2 separate regions of the Homo sapiens genome follow, and region 1 is linked to region 2. Evidence: promoter capture Hi-C in human tissues and cell types (Jung and others, 2019). All regions are on one chromosome and are shown on one strand. Each heading gives the region's core, a stretch centred on a gene start or on the middle of the fragment in contact. The rest is flanking DNA. Distances are from core to core; before and after follow the strand shown.

Region 1 (5,776 bases), core at 3,054-5,553, 140 kb after region 2:
TTTTTTTGAGACGGAGTCTCACGCTGTTGCCCAGGCTGGAGGGCAGTGGCGCAATCTCGGCTCACTGCAACCTCCACCTCCCTGGTTCAAGCAATTCCCCTGCCTCAGCCTCCCAAGTAGCTGGGATTACAGGCGCAAGCCACCATGCCCGGCTAATTTTTTTTTGTATTTTTAATAGAGCTGGGGTTTCACCATGTTGGCCAGACTGGTCTCGAACTCCTGACTTCAGGTGATCCACCCACCTCGGCCTCCCAAAGTGCTGGGATTACAGGCATGAGCCACTGCGCCCGGCCAGGTACTGGATTGTTCTGATCTTACTGAGGCACTGAGAGATGTCAGCCAAGGTCAACCCCTAGTGAAGGCCCTATGCAGGATTTCAGCCCCTAGATCTGGCCAACTCCAAAACTCTTAACTCGTGTTTCTGTTGAAACCTGTGACCTTTCCAGGCTTCCCTGGCCAGCTCAGGAAAGAAGTGGTGAGAAATTATATAGAGAAAAAGAGATTCCTGTTTTAAAAAATTCCCCTCTTCCAGACTGAGAATAAATGATAATATTTTTAATGGCTTTTATAATTTGAAAATAAAAGGGTCACACAGAAAGATGACTGACAGTAGTAACTGAATCATACTGGAGCAAAATAAATTAATGGTTCTCAGGAGAATCTCCAGTTTCCAGAGCACCAGAGGAGGCAGTGTTGTGTAACAAAAGTAATTTTGCCTGTTCCTCTTATTGGCTGTGTCATCTTGGACGAAGCACTTTTTGAGCTTTAATTTCCTTATGGATAAGGTGGGAACATTATTTTCTGAAGTTACTTTTTTTTTTAAATGGGCTTCTCTCTGGGTTCTTTTTAAATTCGGTTTTCATCATGGAGCTAACTTACTGGCGCTTTGGGTGCATCAGCTCTGCTAGACCCTCAATACAGGTGGTCTCATTGAATCCTCATAGCAACCCTGTGGGATTGGCATTATTGCCATCCTCATTTACAGATGAGGCAACTGAGGCCCAGAAAAATGAGAACATTTGCCATGGGTCACAGAGCTGGAAGTGGCAGAGCTGTATGATCCAGACCCTGGGTCCCAATCTGATTTCCAGGGCTTTAGCCCAAGCTACTCTGTCCTCAAGTAGTGCTCCTCTGTGTCCTTCTATTTTTTTTTTTTTTTTTTTTGAGACGGAGTTTCACTCTCATTGCCTAAGCTGGAGTGCAATGGCACAATCTCAGCTCACTGCAACCTCCACCTCCTGGGTTCAAGCGATTCTTCTGCCTCAGCCTCCCAAGTAGCTGGGATTACAGGCGCCCACCACCATACCCAGCTAATTTTTTGTATTTTTTAGTGGAGACTGGGTTTCACCATGTTAGCCAGGCTGGTCTTGAACTCCTGACGTCAGGTGATCTGCCCGCCTCGGCCTCCCAAAGTGCTGGGATTACAGGCGTGAGTCACTGTGCCCGGACCTTTTTTTTTGAGGCGTAATTTCACTCTGTCTCCCAGGCTGGAGTGCAGTGGTGCACAACCTTAGCTCACTGCAACTTCCACCTCCTGGGTTTAAATGATTCCCTGCCTCAGCCTCCCGAGCAGCCGGGGATACAGGCACACACCACCATGCCCAGTTAATTTTTGTATTTTTAGTAGAGATGGGGTTTCACCAGTTGGTCAGGCTGGTCTTGAACTCCAGACCTCAAGTGATCCACCTGCCTCAGCCTCCCAAAGTGCTGGGATTACAGGCGTGAGCCACCCACTATGCCCGGCCTCTTTGTGCCCTTCTTTACCCCCAACTCCCTTGGGTAGTTCTTTCACCTGAGTGCAGCCACTGCCTAGTTAGTGGCTCCTGAACTCCAGCCTGCGCCTCAATCTGCAGCCTCTTTTCAGGGATTCCACAGCATTTCCTCTTGGAAGTTTCCAGGGACCAAAAGACCTCAGCCCAGAAATCAGCCCCCTCTGACACCTGTCCACCCACCCCCACCACACACATGCCATTGGTTTTATTTTTCCATCCATGACCCACAGCCCTACTGTTTAAACTGAGTTACTCTGTTTTTTCTCTCACATAACTGGTCATTGAAGGACCTGACGTTCAGTTCAAGTGTTTATGCATTGAACAGATACTCGCTGAGCACCTACTACGTCAGAGTCACCGTGCAAGGTGCAGTGGGCCTGCAAGCATGAGTCAGTTGCACTCAAGGAAGAACTAAGATGCGTGTGATACGTTCTAACACAGCGAACACAAAGTGAATGCCCTTTGTGTGCCAGATGCGGGGAAATGCCTCCAGGCACAGCTGCTACTTGTTCTGGTTCTGGAGAAGAAAGAAAACAACATTTGACATTGATCTGTATTTTGTTTACTTTTAAAAAAACACTTAAATAGTACTTATATATGCCAGGCACTGTGCATATTAACTCATTAAATCCTCATAACAATTCTGTGGGGTAGGTGCTATGATTATCTTAGGTTATACATGTTGCAGCTGAGGCACAGAGAGGTTAAGTAACTGATTTAAACTCACACAGCTAGAAAGTGATGGAGCTGGAGTCTGGCTCCAGAGTCTGTGCCCTTAAGTACCATAATATGCTGCCTCTTGATATACATGGAGATGGTAATAGAGCCTCCTGGGAGGGTTGCTCTGACATCACATCGTGCGCTACCACTGAGCAACGATCCACGTTAGCCACACAGATAAAGATGAAGGAGGGAGAGATGGCCTTCAGAGGCTGTGCAGGAAGGGTATTCTTTGAGCTTTCCTTGCAGAGAATGGACAGGATTTGAATTTGGTCTAGGGGTACCTGGAAGGAGGTGGCCTTGAGGAATTTCCAGGGACTGGGCGAACAGGAATGCAGAGCCCAGATTTGGGGTAAGGGATTACTAGGGAGAGAGTGGGAAGGTGGGTTAGGGCTGACCGTGGAGATGGGTAGGCTATGAAGGAATCCTCAGTGGGGTTTGTGTGAAGGTTTGCCAAGATGGAGGCACTGTGTCATGGGGGTCCACCTGTTGATGCCACCCACTGGGTGGATAACAGCCGGGAGAAAAAAGAAGAGAAAAGAAGTGTTCAAGGCACAGTCGGGAAGACAGAAAACGCAGTCGTCATTTCAGCAGAGAAATTTTAATGTATGGAATTGCTTCATCAAGTGTTGGAGAACTGAGGAAGCAAGAAGGCAGCATTGAGTTGACACAGATTGGCGGGCAGAGGTCGGGGTTGTCAGAAGCTTGAAGAGACCCAGGGAGCTGGGATCCGGACCCCTGAGGAAGGGGCCCTGCCCGGCTGGTCCCGGCACCTCAGGAGTTCAGTCACCTGCCGCGTGACCCCAGCACATGCCACAGAGCACCAGGACCCATTTCCCACTGGGAGGAGCCCAGCCCTGTGTTCAGGGCAAGACACACCAAACCAGTTCCAAACCATCCTGGAGGGTCCATGTTTTAAGACCACTCCTGGTACCAAGGACTACATAAGTCAGGGGCCAGGCAAAAACCAGCAACTCTACTCGGCATTTCAACAGTGAGGATTTCAGTAGGATGTGAATGACACTGGTGCTAGAGGACTGGAAGAGGAAAAGGGGGAAACTGAGGCAGCACGGGTAGTAACTGCAGGAAGGAGCACCACCTCTTGGGCTGGGGAAGCAGAGGGAAGCATGTGGGGCTCTCAGCCCAGAAGCAGGGAGGAGGGGCCCTGGGAGCCAAGGTGTGGATCTCTGAGAAGAGGGCACTGCCCGCTGGCGCTGTTTCCTCTGGGGGCAACAATAAGCTGGTCTGGGAGTAGGGAAACACACACACACACACACACCCCAAGACAGGAAGCAGTTAGTGCTGCTGGGGTGCAGGCCATTGCTAGGGTAGTACTAAGAAAAAGGAGAAGCAGGCGGGAAGAGCAGTGTCCTCTCCCCCGACTCCAGCCTTCCCTTCTTCTTCCAGAACTCCCATTGGCAGAGCCTAACAGGAAGCTCCTAGCAAGGGAGAAATGTGTCTGCAGAGGCCCCTCCCCTGCACACTGTGGAAGGATGGGCTTGGGGCTGAGATAGAAACCCAGCAGTGAGGCTGAGCTAACTGGGGCAGGGTCAGCAGGGAGGGCCGAGCAGAGGTGGGCTGAGACTCAGCCAAGGATGTGAGGAATGCAAGGGAGGCTGCCTGAAGATGGGAGGAAGGAGGAGGAGCAGTCAGAGGTGACCCGTTGAATCTGGGGACGATGAAAACACACGGTGGCGTCACAAACAGAAAGCTTGGGTGATGGGGGCAGCCCACTCAGGACCAGGGCATGACGGAGCTTGGCTGTAGACAGACTGAGGTTGGAGGAAGGTCCTTCATTCTAGTGGCAACGCACACGGGTTTTTGGATATACAGACAAAGCTTGGGAGGGAGATCCTGCCTTCTGTCAAGGTGATGAGAGTCAGTGGGACGGAGTGGACTAGGAGCAGAGCGCCGCCGATGACAGGCCCATGGGAATGCCCACACTCGGGGGGCAGAGGGGCAGGCAGATAGCAGGAGAACCAGGCCAGGGCAGGGTCACTGAGGCCACGGGGACAGGACTCGGGAAGGAAGGGGTCACTTCAGGCTGACTCACATCCTTCAGAGAAGTCAAGGAGGATGAGAACCAAGAAAAGGCCATCGGCCTTGGCAACTGTGAGGTCACAGGTGATCTCGCATCGTGCCCTTGCAGACGTCATCCTCTCTGTCCTGCAGCGCCCTGCCTGCTGTCGCCCCCAGGCCCAGCCCTTGCCCCTAGGGAAGCCTCCCTCCCCAGTGAATCCTCTCATTCATTTCTTTTCTCGATGCTTCCCAGACGCCTTGCTTCTCAGTTTGTGCTATTTGAATTTGCACTTGTCATCCTGTTGCTCTGCAAATGTGTTTATCAGTTATTTCACCTCCCTGTGCTTCTGAGCCCTCATAGCCAACACAGGCGGTTTCCTGTAAGTGTTGGTGACTCTGACTGACAGTCAGAGGAAAGATTTATGAAATTAACCAGAACAAATCTGTGAGGAATCTCATAAGCAGGAGGAGCCAACTTCCAGCTGAATTCAGGAGCAGAGCTGAAGTTGGGAGGGCGGGTGCAGTCAGGGCCCAAGGAAGGAAAGCGATGCGCTCTGTTTGCTCCGAGATGGGTGGGTACCCCTTGACAGTCTAGGCTGTGGTTGCCCCAGATGTCATGGAAGGCGGTGAGGAGGGCTTGGAGGGACAGCATTAAAAATGGGTCAGAACTCACTTCTGTAATCCCAGCACTTTGGCAGGCAGAGGCAGGCAGATCACCTGAGGTCAAGAGTTTGTGATCAGGCTGGCCAACCTGGTGAAACCCCGTCTCTACTAAAAATACAAACATTAGCTGGTCATGGTGGCGTGCACCTGTAGTCCCAGCTACTCGGGAGGCTAAGGCAGGAGAATCACTTGAACCCGGGAGGCGGAGGTTGCAGCGAGCCTAGATCGCACCACTGTACTTCAGCCTGCGTGACAGAGACTCCATCTCAAAACAAGAAAAGTGTCAGAAGTGGTCCCTGAGCTCTAGGAGAGGAGCAGGGCCTGGGAAGAGCGTGAGGTTGGAATCCTGGGCGAGTTACCCAGCCTCTCTGAGCCTCAGTCTCTTCATCTGTCAGGTAAGGTGAATGATACCTTGGCGGGGAAGGAATGAATGGGATTGTGTGAACAGGTCCATGAGGGGGGCTCAGCACATATTGGTTCCCTTCTAAGGAGTGATGACAAATAGAAAAGCAGGACCTGAATAGCTCACTCAAACCTGGAGGAGTTCACATAAAATGAAATGCCACAAGCATTGAAATAATTGTCTTACAAGGGAAAATTAT
Region 2 (5,420 bases), core at 280-2,779:
GCCAAGATTGCACCACTGCATTCCAGCCTGGGCGACAAGAGTAAAACTCTGTCACAAAAACAAAACAAAACAAAACAAAAAACAAACAGGAAAAGAAAAACTATATGCTTGTATCATGCTTAGAAAATGTTCTGGAAGAATACATGTGGTGAAAAGAATAAGCTATGGAACTAGGGAAAAGAAATTGCTGGGGACTTTGTCTCTTGTGCTACATAATTCTAGATTATTCTAATTTTCATGAAGGTAGGTTTCTGTGTAGTTGCTTGTTTAGCATTAAATACATTCCTTATACAACTCATGAATTATCCTGTGGTGTTGGTATATCTGTATACTGGAACAATATAAATAAAACTGCTGGATGAAAAAAAGAGTGACCAAAAGCTAATAGGAAATGTTTACTCATTATAAAATGATTACAAAGCAGGAAAGATGATAGAAAAAAATTAGAATTGGGCTGTACAAAAATATAACAGCAGGGTTTTTGAAGACTAAAAATTGCACATATGCAGCTTGTCGCTAGCACCTGTCTGACAAGGTCCCAGTGAAACACCTGCCCTTTCATTCTCAGGGCCAGTACACACACCTGCACACACCCTGAAGCAGGCACCCCAGATACCCACCCACCCAGCCAGCATACTTGGGTACAGAACACACACACCTGGGCCCCAACCCAAATCAGCAACCCAAATCAGCAGGGCAGAGTGTCATAACTAAAAAGACAGACAGACAGAGAGAGAGACTGAGAGAGAGAGAGAGAGAGAGAGAGATTGCTGGATAGTGCCTGGTATGTCTCTGGGCAAAGTGCTGGGCTCTTTCTCAAGTTCAAAGTGAGCTTCTCAAGCCACACCGCACCCAGCTCTGGGCCTCAGCGCAGCAAGCTTCCAGGTTTCACCCTCTGCCTCTTAGTCTCTCTGCACTCCTGCATCCCCAGACATCCGCACATGCACATACACACACAGGCACACACACAAATGCACACACGGGCAAACACACGAGCATGCGTTCTCTCTCTTTCTAAACCAAGATGTCAGGGACTATCCATGCTCCCCATTCCACAGATGAGGAGACAGAAGCCCAGGGTGGACAGGGGGTGCTCTCACTACCACCAGCATCTTAGTGACAAAGCGAAGACAGACTATAGGTGCCTGACTCCCAGGCCTGAGCTCTCTTCACCCCACTAGGCGTCCTTCCCACCAGGACCAACCAGATCCCGCTAGCGAGGCTGAGTCCTCCCCAGAGCTCTCCTACAACACCCAAGCAGCTTGGCACCCCTGGCTGCCTCCCCATCCACTGGCCGCCCTAGGAGTCTGGGCTCAGGTCATCCTAAGAGGCCAAGCCCTAACTCCTCCAAGTCCCCAGGGCACAGCTACCCACAGGACGCCCCCCAGGCTCCCCCTGTCCTTTTTCATCCTGGACTCCCCACATTCCCCCCTGCTCTGACCCCACCCCTCAGCCCTGCTCCTGGACGCCGGGCCATACCTCTGTGTGGTGGGAGAGACCAGTCTTCTTCTGGAGCCTCTAGGCAGAGTGAGCCTCCCACGTTTCCTATTTATGTTGATGTCATCAGGAAACAGAGAAGCAGAAAGAGGAAGCAGTGCCGGCCCAGGCCTACTTTGCTAATAGTGCACGTGACTTTTCTTACTTCCAGAAAGCCTCCTACTCCAATTTACCTTCCTATAAACTCCTAGGCCTCCTTCAAGCCTCAGCTGACGCAGGGCCTCCTCCATGCAGCCTTCCCTGACTGCTTGATGGGGATGCAGGTGGAAGTGGCTGCAATAACCATAGCTGGTTTGAGCCCAGAGCCAGACAGATCTGTGTTGGACTTCCAAGTCCACTGCTTCTTAAAGCGTGTCCTTGTGCAAATCATCTGCGTGTTACTTCCCCAAGCCTCGGGACATCCATCTGTCTGTTACTTTTGCAGAAGCATCTACAAACCTGGAAGGACTGTTGAGGGAATCCAGTGAGATTCTGTGCAGGAAGACCTTAGCTCAGAGCTGGCCACAGGAGAACCCCCTACAAGTGGTAGCTGGTGGCATGTTGATTTCCCCGATGTCCTCTTTGCCCTGCCGCCCCACCCCACCATGTGTCATATGGTCATGTGTGTTCATGGCTGTCTTTCTTCTGACACTATCTTCAGTGCTGGCTTGTGTCCGGCTTGCACTTCCCTCCCAAATACCTAGCACATGGCCTGGTACAGAGGAGAAATTGCACCTTTGACTGTGTGCAAATGAATAGATGAATGAATGAATGAATGAATGAATGAATGAATGAATGAGTGGCTCCCTGAGCACAGCAGGGCCAGCAGAATTAAGGTCAGGTGAGTGAGGCAGTCTCTCGTGCTCAAAATTTAAACAGGCATTTAAAAATTCAGTAATTGTTGTAAGTAATATTTTAATGCAATATGGTTTAAAAAAATCCCAACTGATGCAGAAACTATTCACGGTGAACCAAATATGAAAAGTTTGAATAAAGACAAGATGAATCACAGTGCCAAGACACAACAAAACGCAGTCATATTTCTCCTACATGGGGCTGCCTCCCAGGAGAAAGGGCAGCAGGCAGGAATGAGGGGAATGGAGGGCAAGAATGAGGGGAATGGAGGAAATGGAGGGGCAGGAACCTGCCTCGAAGCCACTGGAATTCTGGCCTGATTGTTGTTCTTTGCTTTCCTCCTACCAGGAAGGGCAGGGTTGGCCAGGAAGAGCTGGCAGGGCCTCACCCTAGCAGAGAAAGCCCAGGGTAGAGGAAGGCATGTGTGGTTCTCTCAGGCACTCCGGTCAGTGTGAGGTCCCTGCCTGGCATGGAAAAACCCTGCAGGGGCTTCTCCAGGGCTGGAGAGGATGGAATTAAAGTGACGTCCCGGGCTCTCTTTTCTCCCAGGTGTCCCCACTCTGCCTGTCTTTGCTGAGGTCCTCTGTGGGACTGGGAGGCTGCGGGCCTGGATGCCCTCAGGAGCACAGAGGATGCTGTCTGGTGGAGAAACGAAGAACCCGAGACTCTGAGTCAAAATCACTCCGGACACCAGACCCAAAATGTGAAGGAGCTTTAGGAACACCTCAGCCAATTCACTTGACTGACCCTTTCCTTTTAAAAGTCATCATAGAGCAGCAGGGGATAAAAATCTACATTTGAATGAGTCTAACAGAGTTCTCTCAATAAGTATTAAAAGTTCTAAGCGAGAAGAATCACACCGTCAGGAATTCATTGAATGTTTTCGTTTGTTTGTTTGTTTTTTCCTTCAGTGGTATGTAAAATACCGTGTCTTGCAATTGACGATCTTTTAGAGACTAAGAAACCCAAGAAAATGTTGGCAAGAACGTAGTACTCATAATGACCAGGGCTTGAGCATTTACGCTGTGAGCAGACCTTCGGCTGGGGGCTTCTCCATCTCTTCCCAATAACCTTTATGTAGCTGTTACTGTCTTCACCTTACAGATGAAGAAATTGAGGCATGAAAAGGAAGATAACTTGTTGAAAGTAGTAACTCGTATATGTTAACATTGCATTTTTTTCCATTTCCATTTTTATTCTGAAACTATTTCAAAATACAGAGCGTTAAAGGAATGATACAAAGAACTCTCACATACCCTTCATGTGGAAACCCCCTTTGAGTTTCGCTAAGCTTCTCAATAATGGTTTTGTAACAAGAAAATCCATCCGGGACTTTGCATTCTCTCTAAATGCATGGCTCTTAGTTGCCATGTCTTTCGGGCCTCCAGTTTGAAACAGATGCCTTGTTTTTTCCTCGACATCTCGAAGACTGCAGGTTGGTTGTTTTGAATAATGTCCCTCGATTTGGCTCTGTCTGATGATTAGAACTGGGTTATGCTTTTTTGGCCAAAATAGCACAGAAGTGATGCTGGATTATTCTTGGTGAGTCCTATTAGCTTTCATTGTCAATCTGTCCCATCACTAATGTCGTTCGCTCTGATCATTTGATTAACTTGACACCAATCAAGTTTCTCTATTGTAAAGTTACTTCCCCTTCCACATCGTAATTTATAAGCATTTGGTAGGGAGATACTTTTAAGCTTTCTCATCCCACTCCCACACTTGTATAATTTCAGTATGCAATGATGTTCCTTAATTTAATTAAACATTATCATGATGATCATTGCCAAATGGTGACTTTTAAAAATTCTGTCATTCAGAAGTCCTAGCCAGAGCAATCTAACAAGAGAAAGAAATAAAAGACATCCAAATAGGAAAAGAAGAAGTCAAACTTTCTCTCTTCCTTGATGATATGATTTTATACCTAGAAAACCCTAAAGACTCCACCAAAAGTCCCCGGGAACTGATGAACAACTTCTATAAAGTTGGAAACAAAATCAATGTGCACAAATCAGTAGTATTTCTGTGCACCAATAAAGTTCAAGCTGAGAGCCAAATCAAGAATGCAATCCCATTTGCAATAGTCACACACACACACACACAAATAAAATACTTAGGAATGCAGCTAAGCAAGGTCATAAAAGATCTCTACAAGGAGAACCACAAAGCACTGGTAAAAGACATCATAGATGACACAAACAATTGGAAAAACATTCCATGCTCATGGATTGGAAGAATCAGTATCATTACAATGGCCATACACCCAAAGCATTCCACAAACTCAATGCTATTCCTGTCAAACTACCACTGTCATTTTTCACAGAATTAGAAAAAACTATTCTAAAATTCATATGGAACCAAAAAAAAGCTCGAATAGCCAAAACAATCCTGAGCCAAAAGAACAAAGCCTGAGGCATCACATTACACAAATTAAAACTATACTAAGGCTACAATAATCGAAGCAGCATAGCACTGGTATAAAAACAGACACATAGACCAATGGAACACAGAAATAAAGCTGAATACCCGCAGCCATCTGATCTTCAACAAAGCTGACAGAAATAAGCAATGGGGGAAGCACTCCCTATTCAATAAATGGTGATACGATAGCTGGCCAGCCATACACAAAAGAATGAAACTGGACCCTTACCTTTCACCATATACAAAAATTAACTCAAGATGGATTAAAAGTTTAAATGTAGGACCTCAAATTATAAGAATCCTAGAAGAAAACCTAGGAAGCACCACTCTAGACATCATTCTTGGGGAAAAATTTATGACTAAGTTCTTAAAAGCAATTGCAATATAAACAAAAATTGACAAGTGGGTCCTAAGTAAACTAAAAAGCTTCTGCACAGCAAAGGACACTATCAACAGAGTAAACAGACAACCTACAGAATGGGAGAAAATATTCGCACACTGCATGCAGCAAGGGTCTAATATTCAGAATCTGTACAGAACTTAGGCAATTCAGCAAGCAAAAAATAAAATAAAATAAAATAACCCCAATAAAAAGTGGGCAAAAGAAATGAACAGACACTTCTCCAAAGAAGACATACAAGCAGCCAACAGATATGAAAAATGCTCAA

The links. The method cuts DNA at HindIII sites, captures the fragments that hold promoters and counts their contacts. A contact is called where the count stands out against the background at its distance.
Region 1: a fragment that was not itself captured here is called in contact with the fragment with the promoter of CSF2RB in region 2 in 1 of the 25 tissues and cell types used here (bladder).

The regions. Positions count from the first base shown.
Region 1 is chr22:36,769,043-36,774,818 of GRCh38, reverse strand. The region is part of intron 1 of IFT27 (intraflagellar transport 27); the gene reads left to right. Among named protein-coding and RNA genes, the nearest start is that of IFT27, 4.2 kb to the left of the region's middle. The HindIII fragment of the contact is 5,942 bases long and covers 1,333-5,776 here.
Region 2 is chr22:36,909,737-36,915,156 of GRCh38, reverse strand. It overlaps CSF2RB (colony stimulating factor 2 receptor subunit beta), which reads right to left and starts at 1,529. Exons shown (of 14, transcript NM_000395.3): 1 at 1,480-1,529. RefSeq lists an enhancer at 2,995-3,696. The HindIII fragment of the contact is 4,511 bases long and covers 1-3,827 here.